2 separate regions of the Homo sapiens genome follow, and region 2 is linked to region 1. Evidence: promoter capture Hi-C in 16 types of primary human blood cells and fetal thymus (Javierre and others, 2016). All regions are on one chromosome and are shown on one strand. The core of a region is centred on a gene start or on the middle of the fragment in contact, and the rest is flanking DNA. Distances in the headings are between cores, read along the strand shown.

Region 1 (4,148 bases), core at 798-3,297:
TCTCAGAGCATCCACACATGGCAGAAGGATCAAACAGGCTCCCTCAAGCCTCTTTCACAAGGGCACCAATTTCCCCCACAAAGGATCCATCCTGTTAATATGAATGTGTTGGGTCTTAGGTTTCAACATATGAATTTTGGGGAGATACCAGCATCCAAACCATAGCAGCCCCCAAATATGCTGGGCCCTCAAAACCCTCCAAAATCCCTTCACTTATCTCTATTCTATGACTGGGCCTACTCTCCACAGGGACCATTCACTGCTCCTCACATGGCCCACTCAACAACTTTTCTCGCTCTCTGTAGGCAACACTGTCTCCTCCTTAAATTGAAAATCAAGGCCACCTAAGACACTACCCAGGCCTGCTCTTCATTCATTCATTCATTTAATAAATATTTACCAGAGCTAACATGGGCCTGCACGGTACAGATGTGAGACATACAAGAATGAGAGCCAAGCGGCCATGGTCTCTGCCTTCATGGATCTCAGTCTACTGTTAAGTTACACATTAAGCAAAAATTACACAAATTATTGCACACCCTGAAAGGGGCTAGGAAGAAGAATCCCTGGTGCTGCAATTTTTGTGTTTTTTTTGTTTTTGTTTTTGAGACGAAGTATCACTCTGTGGCTCAGGCTGCAGTACAGTGAGGCGATCTCAGTTCGCTGCAACTGCCACCTCCCAAGGTCAAGTGATTCTCCTGCCTCAGCCTCCTGAGTAGCTGGGATTACAGACGCATGCCACCACGCCCGGCTAATTTTTGTATTTTTAGTAGAGCTAGGGTTTCACCACGTTGGCCAGGCTGGTCTCAAACTTCTGACCTCAGGCAATCCGCACCTGGCCTCCCAGAGTGCTGGGATTACAGGTGTAAGCCACTGTGCCCGGCTGTTTTTTTTTTTTTTTTTTTTTGAGACAGAGTCTTGCTCTTCGCCCAGGCTGGAGTGCAGTGGCTCAATCTCAGCTCACTCCAACCTCCACCTCCCAGGTTGAAGCGATTCTCCTGCCTCAGCCTCCCAAGTAGTTGGGACTACAGGCATGCACCACCACGCCCCTCTAAGTTTTATATTTTCAGTAGTGACGGGGTTTTGCCATGCCTGCCTCAGCATCCCAAAGTGCTGGGATTACAGGCGTGAGCCACTGAGCCCGGCTGTTTCTTTTTGTGTGTGTTTTTTTTAATGAAACAGGGTCTCGCTCTGTTGCCCAGGCTGGAGTGTAGTGGTGCAATCACAGCTCTCTGCAGCCTCTACCTCCCTTCAGGGCCCAAGCAATTCTCCCACCTCAGCGTCCCAAGTAGCTAGGATTACAGGCCTGAGCCGCTAATTATTTTCTTTTCTTCTTTCTCATTCTCTCTCTCTCTTTTTTTTTTTTTTTACCATGTTGCCCAGGCTGGTCTTGAACTCCTGGACTCAAGAGATCCGCCACTCTGCCTCCCAAAATGCCGTGATTACAGGTATGAGCCACCACACCCAGCAATGCTGCAAGTCTTATGGGCCAGGATAGTGTAATCTAAGAAATGATATATGAAGAACTCTCACAATAGGGAAGAGGTGAGGAGTGTCCAGGCAGAGAGAAGAGCATTTGCAGAGGCCCTGGGCGAGAAGAAACCTGCATCCTTTAAGGACCTAAATGAAGCCAAGCAGGCAGAGGCTAGATCACACATGGGGGCTTCATGCCCACCTTAAGTAGTTTGGGTCTTTAAAAAAGGAATGAGACTCATAAAGAGGTTTTAAGGAGCGAATGCTATTGCTGCCATGAACAGATATTCCTTCCCCATAGCTGCAGAGCAGGCACAGGGCTGTTTTTGCCCGCCAGTATGTCCCCACCGTCTAGCCCAGAGCGGGGCCAGCGGCCGGCTCCTACCCACACTTGCTGGCAGGAAGACTGGACGCACTGCGGGACATGGTGATGTCCTGGGTTGGGGCTGAGGAAGGCCTATGCGCGGAGGGTGCGGCCTTCGGCTAAGGCAGAGGACCAGGGTTGGGTCCGTGGCGGCGGGAGGGGTGGCCTCCTGCGCTGGTCGCCCCAGGGGACCTGAGAGGCGCGACAAACAGTCGGCGCGTTTGGTACTCGCGCCTGCAGAGCTTTCAACCTCCGCGCCGGCTGCGCCTGTTTCTCGGCCAGGGGAGCAAGGCCACGCGGCCTACGCAGCCGAGTCGGAACCAACCGGTTGTTTGGTGAAACCTACCCCAGAGCCTCCCGCGGCCCACAGAGCACAGGTGAGGCAGCAGACCGGGTGGGGTCGGTGTCGCGCCTGCGCCCGCCCGGACGCCTCGGGCCCGCCCGCTCCGCACCCTGGAAACCCCTGCACTCAGCCCCCCGGCGTCCCCACGCTCTCGGCCCTGCTGCGCCGGCGGCGGCCATCTCTGGGCGGCGGCGGCGGGCGGTGTTTGCGCGGTCGGTGAGACCCGCGCGGGTGAGACGCTGGGTGAGTTCCGGACGCTTCCAGCCGGCCCGCCGGTGATCCCAGACCTCGGGGCGGGACGCGGCTCCCGCTCACCGCCGGCAAAGGTGGAGGTGCGGCGGGGCGCGGGGCGCGGGGCCAGCCCGGGGCGGTGCGGGGGCGTCCCTGCCTAGCGAGGCCCTGCCCCGCGACCTGCCGCACCCTCCTCCGGCCTGTTCGCGACCTCTAAAGATAATACTTCTCACTGTCGAAAACGTGGAACAGAAAGCAAGGAAGCAAGCAAAGCAGCCGTGCCGCTGCTCCCCAGAGACAAGCTGCGTTAACATGAGGGTGTATATTCTTCCAGATGGTTTTTCCTTGTAACATGAGCGGGGCTTGTTTTTGCAGAACCTGCATCATAAAGTGCTGAAACTCTCTCTCTCTCTCTCTCTCTCTCTCTCTCTCTCTCTCTCTCGACTCTCTCTCTCTCGACTCTCTCTCTCTCTCTCTCGACTCTCTCTCTCTCTCTCTCTCTCTCTCGACTGTACATTCCTGTGTGTCAGGTTGACTACCTCATCCATCCCTGACTCTTGGCATGGCTTTGGACTGTGATTTACTAAATGTAGTTTCTCCCTGATGGTGAGCGTACAAGTGGTTTTCAGTTTTTAGTTATTGCAAAAAGTAATTCATTGAGCATCGTTGTATCTGGGTTTTTGAGCGTGATCATTTCTGTAGAAAGAATCGCACAAGATTCGTTCTAAAACAAGATAGAATCCACGGTCTATACCACAAGGCTTCTGGTATAGATTGTGAAATGGCCCTCAGAAAAGTTATTCTCCTTTTTGTACCTCCAGTAAGTAGCATTTGGGAATACTTGGCTCGAGGAGCTTCCTGAGTGATTTTACTGGAGACCCCCCTCACTTCATAAGGGGCCGGCCCGGAGATGAAGATGTCAACACTTGAGTGTGACTTGCATTATTGGCTGGCCCTACCTGGGGGCCTTTGCTGAAAAGGGAACCATGAGCATCTTAGTAACTACTATCATCTAGTAATTTTTAAACTGACTTCGGTTTATCTTGAACGAACCATTTCAGTCCCCAGTAAGAATAAACCTAAGTTAAGGCAAAATTCAGGTGGATTAGATGAACAGTGGCAACGTGTTGGTGTTTAAGTCATGCTCTGAAACTTAGGTGTTGGGTTGCTAGGGAAGGGATTTTAAAAGATTGATGGGTACGTATGAGATACGCAAAAAGCTTTCTTTAAAGACATGTAAAAAGTTTCAAGTGCTTGGTATCATCTCCATCAGTGAAAGTAAGTGGAATATGGTTTTTCATCTTTTTAAATTTACATTTTAATAAAATATTTGCAAAAATAGAGGGTTTTTTGTATTTATCATTTTCCAGTTTGGTCATAGAATCTTGAAAATTAAGTACATGCATAAGAGTTTAAAAACAACAGTGGATTAATTTCTTGCTCCCAAGTTTCATTTTTTTATTTTTCAGACAGAATCTCCCTCTGTCACCCAGGCTGGAGTGCAGTGGCATGATCTCGGCTCACTGCAACCTCCACCTCCCGGGTTCAAGCGATTCTTGTGCCTCAGCCTCCGGAGTAGCTGGGATTTACAGACGTGCGCTACCATGCCCGGCAAATTTTTCTATTTTTGCAAAGACAGGATTTCACCGTTTTGTCCAGGCTGGTCTTGAACTATTGACCTCAAGTGATCCGACCGCCTTGACCTCCCAAAGTGCTGGGATTACGGGGTGTGAGCCA
Region 2 (4,049 bases), core at 808-3,307, 1.7 Mb before region 1:
ACTTACATTTTCTTGTTGCCTGATTCTGGTTAGTCCCTGATCCACTCAGCACTAATTAGCAAGGATGATTCCTGTTTTTGGTTTGAGTTCCCCTGAAAGAGAGGAAGCAGCAGCCATGTGCATGTTTATATTTGGAAGCTGGGGAGACAGACTGTGTGAAAGGAAGTCTCTGGGACAGCTCCCACCCCATTAAAACATGTACTGCATCCCTTCTAAGTGCAATTACATACATGCCTTTCTGCCTATCTGCCCTTCCAGTCTATGCTTTCCTTTTTCATTGCTGTTTGCTTATTTTTCTTCTTTGACTCCTCTTTTGCATATATTTTTGGAGGTTTCTTAAATTTTTTTAAAGAGTTCCTGTTAAGAATGAGTGATGAGAAAGATTAAAGAAGGAAAATTAAGAGGATAAACTAGCTGGGTGCTGTGGCTCACGCCTGTAATCCCAACACTTTGGGAGGCTGAGGTGGGTGGATCACCTGAGGTCAGGGGTTTGAGACAAGCCTGGCCAACATTGTGAAACCCCGTCTCTACTAAAAATACAAAAAATTAGCCAGGTGTGGTGGTGTGTGCCTGTAGTCCCAGCAACTTGGGAGGCTGAGGCAGGAGAATTGCTTGAACCCGGGAGGTGGAGGTTGCAATAAGCTGAGGTGGTGCCACTGCACTCCAACCTGGGCAAAAAAGCGAGACTCCATCTCAAAAAACAAACAAACAAACAAAAACCCTAAATGTATGACTTCAGCATACTTTTTGCTGGGTTAATTTTCCCCACTTAAGGTGGTGGTAAGCTACATGAAGGCAAGAACTGTATTTCTGTATTTTACCTGTTGTATTTATATTCACACCTTCTGCCTCCATCGTATGTTAAATATGTAATTAGAATTAAAATTGAGTCACGCTGTGCTAACAGTTTGATGGGTGATTTTGCAGCAACAGTTTTAACTCTGGACAAGTTTCTTCAAAAATGAATATAATATCTCAGTCTGTAAACTTTATAAAATGTATCAACAAATAAAACCATTGTATTAGCTTGGGCTGCCATAATAAAATACTAGATTGGGTGGCTTACACAACAGAAGTTTATTTTTTCAAAGTTATGTAGGTTGGGAGGTCCAAAAGAGGGTGCCAGCATGGTCAGTTTTGGGTGAGGGCTCTCTCTCTGGCTTGCAGATGTCTGTCTGCTTGCTGTGTTCTCAAATGGAGAGAGCTCTCTGGTGCCACTTTCTATAAAGACATTAATCTTATGGGATTAGGGCCCCACCCTTATGACCTAATTTAATTTTTATTACCTCCCTAAAGGCCTAGCTCCAACTAGAGATGGTCCCTGACTTAAGATTTTTTTGACTTTATGATGGTCCAAAAGCCATATGCACTCTAGAATCTGTACTTTGAGTACCCATAAAACCATCCAGTTTTTCATTCAGTATTTAGTAGATTACATGAAATACTCAATACTTTATTAAAAAATAAGCTTTGTATTAGATGATTTTGCCTAACTGAAAGCTAATGTAAGTATTCTGAGCATGTTTTAGGTAGGCTACTCTAAGCTATGATGTTTGGTAGGTTAGAAGCATTAAATGCATTTCTGACTTAAGATCTTTTCAACTTAAGGTATTTTCAGTTTATGGTGGGTTTATTGGAACATAACCCCTTTGTAAGTTAAGGAACATTTATATAGTCACATTAGGAGTGAGGGCTTCAGTATGAATTTTTGGGGGGGATGCAATTCAGTCCATACCAGTCATGATAAAATATGCAGTTATTTAAACCCTTAGAATAAACTCAAAATTCACCGCCATTATTCACTTTGGATGCTAATAACAGAATGTAGACATAGAGTAGCTGTTGCCCAGTTTCATGGTCTACTTGTCCCAGTCAACCTGAGGATAGTACAGCATAAATAGGTAAATTTGTGCTTGACCTTGTGATCCTACATATGGCAGGCTGTCTTAGTCCCTTTAGTGTTGCTAGAAAGGAATACCCAAAGCTGGATAATTTAGAAATAGAAAAGGTTTTTCGGCTTATGGTTCTGATGTCTGGAAAAGTTCAAGACTGAGCATCTGCATCTGATGGTAGCCTAAGACTGCTTCTACTCATGCCAGAAGGCAAAGGAGAGCTGGTGTGTGCAGAGATTACATGGCCAGAGAGGACGCAAAAGAAGAAAGGAAGTGCGACGTTCTTTTTAACCAGCTCTGGTGGAAATAAAGAGAACTCATTTACCCTCTCCCCAGGGAGGACATTAATCTATTCCTGAAGGAACCACCTCCATGACCCAACACTGCCCATTAGTCCCCACCTCCAACATTGGGGATCAAATTTCAACAGGAGGTTTAGGGGAACAAACATCTAAATTACAGCACAGGCCAACCACATGCATGCATTACCAATCACGTAAATAATTTTGAAGTTAAATGCAGAAAACTGCAAACTTTTGAGGCTGATATCCAGGGCCAGGATTAAAATAAAAAGTATTAATGCCTTAAACAGTATTTACTGACCATCTACCCTACTGCAAGGCCCTAGGGAGAAACTGAACAGACATGGTTACTGATTCAACGGAGTTTACAATCTAGGTAGACATACAGGCAAACCATTTCAATAGCTCGGATGGAGAAAACACCTGTGCTCCAAGGAAGGTACCTAACTGAGCAAGCTTCCCTGAGGAGCGATCCTAAACTGTGCCACAAAGATGGTTAAGAAGAGATGAGGCGGCTGGGCGTGGTGGCTCACGCCTGTAATCCCAGCACTTTGGGAGGCCGAGGCTGGCGAATCACGAGGTCAAGAGATCGAGACCATCCTGGTGAAACCCCGTCACTGCTAAAAATACAAAAACATTAGCTGGGCGTGGTGGTACATGCCTGTAATCCCAGCTACTCGGGAGGCTGAGGCAGGAGAATAGCTTGAACCCGGAGGCGGAGGTTGCAGTGAGCCGAGATCGTGCCACTGCACTCCACCCTGGCGACAGAGCGAAACTCGTTTCAAAAAAAAAAAAAAAAGAGGCAGGTTACGGCGCGGGGGCGGGGAAGGGGGCCTGCAGCACCGGCGAGGGGAAGAACCAACTTACTGATGCCTCAGCCAGTGGCTGGAGCCCTAAGAATGGACAGACCTGGCTCCGAAGGTCCTCTTCATAACACTACTGCCGCCAAGAATGTAAGCTGCCCAAGCACGAGGACACTTTTAGAGGGCCCTCAGACTCAGCTTCTTTTGGTCTGTGCCTCAAATTAAGCACATGTCTTACATTTCTCCCAGGTCCCAATTTTCAGGTCTGCTTTTCTTTGTTTTTCTTTGTCGCTCCCCGCTCCTAAGAACCTTCGGCTGGGATGACATTCTTCAGGTGCAGAAACCAGGGGGAAGCTCCCAGAGCAGTGGGGGCTGAACTCAGGACACAGTCATTTTTGCTGTTAAGTCTCTCCTGCGGCGCTGAGGAGGCAGGCTCAAAGTAACCAACCAGAGCAGCCGCAGAGGGAAAAGCTAAGACAGTTCTGGTCCGGCCCAGCGCTTCTCACCCTCTAGCTCTCTACTCTCCGCCGCGCAGCCTCCGCTCCCTCCACATCAGGCACGGCGCTTGATTGACATGAGGGCCCGCCCAATCCCAGTGCGGCAGAGACCGTTGTCGCGTCAGGGACCGGGGAAGGGGGCGACTGAACCTATCAGATTGGGTCCAGAGTGGGTTTCCTGCCCGCGCGGATCCGCCTGCCCACCGCGCGTGCCCCGCCTCTCTCCCAAGAGCTACGCGGCGGCGGCGGAGCGCAGGCCTCGTGCCGTTACGGCCATCACGGCGGCCGCAGTGGCGTCCTGGAGCCCTCCTCAGGTGAGCTGGAGCTGCCCGGCTCGGCAGCGGGAAGGTGAGACGGCCTTGTTGGCAGGCAGACACACACACACCCCCCTTCAGTCCGCTGTCCGTCCATACAGCCTGTTACTCGCTGCGTCGCTTCCTCTTCTCGCGCTGAGTTAGCCCCGGGGGCGCCGTCTGCAGGCTCGGAGCCGAGCCGGAGGGGGCGCGGAGGCTGCTCGGAGGGTCCAGACTTCTGCACCGGGATTCCGCGAGACCC

The links. The method cuts DNA at HindIII sites, captures the fragments that hold promoters and counts their contacts. A CHiCAGO score of 5 or more calls a contact.
Region 2: a fragment that was not itself captured here is called in contact with the fragment with the promoter of FAIM in region 1 in 3 of 17 cell types (fetal thymus, naive CD8 T cells and total CD4 T cells); the score reaches 5.9 in fetal thymus.

The regions. Positions count from the first base shown.
Region 1 is chr3:138,606,724-138,610,871 of GRCh38, forward strand. FAIM (Fas apoptotic inhibitory molecule) reads left to right here and starts at 2,048. Exons shown (of 6, transcript NM_001033031.2): 1 at 2,048-2,214. RefSeq lists a silencer at 2,136-2,595 and an enhancer at 2,696-2,785. The HindIII fragment of the contact is 4,797 bases long and covers 1-3,629 here.
Region 2 is chr3:136,858,512-136,862,560 of GRCh38, forward strand. NCK1-DT (NCK1 divergent transcript) reads right to left here and starts at 3,552. Exons shown (of 3, transcript NR_110177.1): 1 at 3,236-3,552. It overlaps NCK1 (NCK adaptor protein 1), which reads left to right and starts at 3,697. Exons shown (of 4, transcript NM_001291999.2): 1 at 3,697-3,842. RefSeq lists enhancers at 2,626-2,675, 3,236-3,295 and a silencer at 3,656-3,715. The HindIII fragment of the contact is 1,182 bases long and covers 1,467-2,648 here.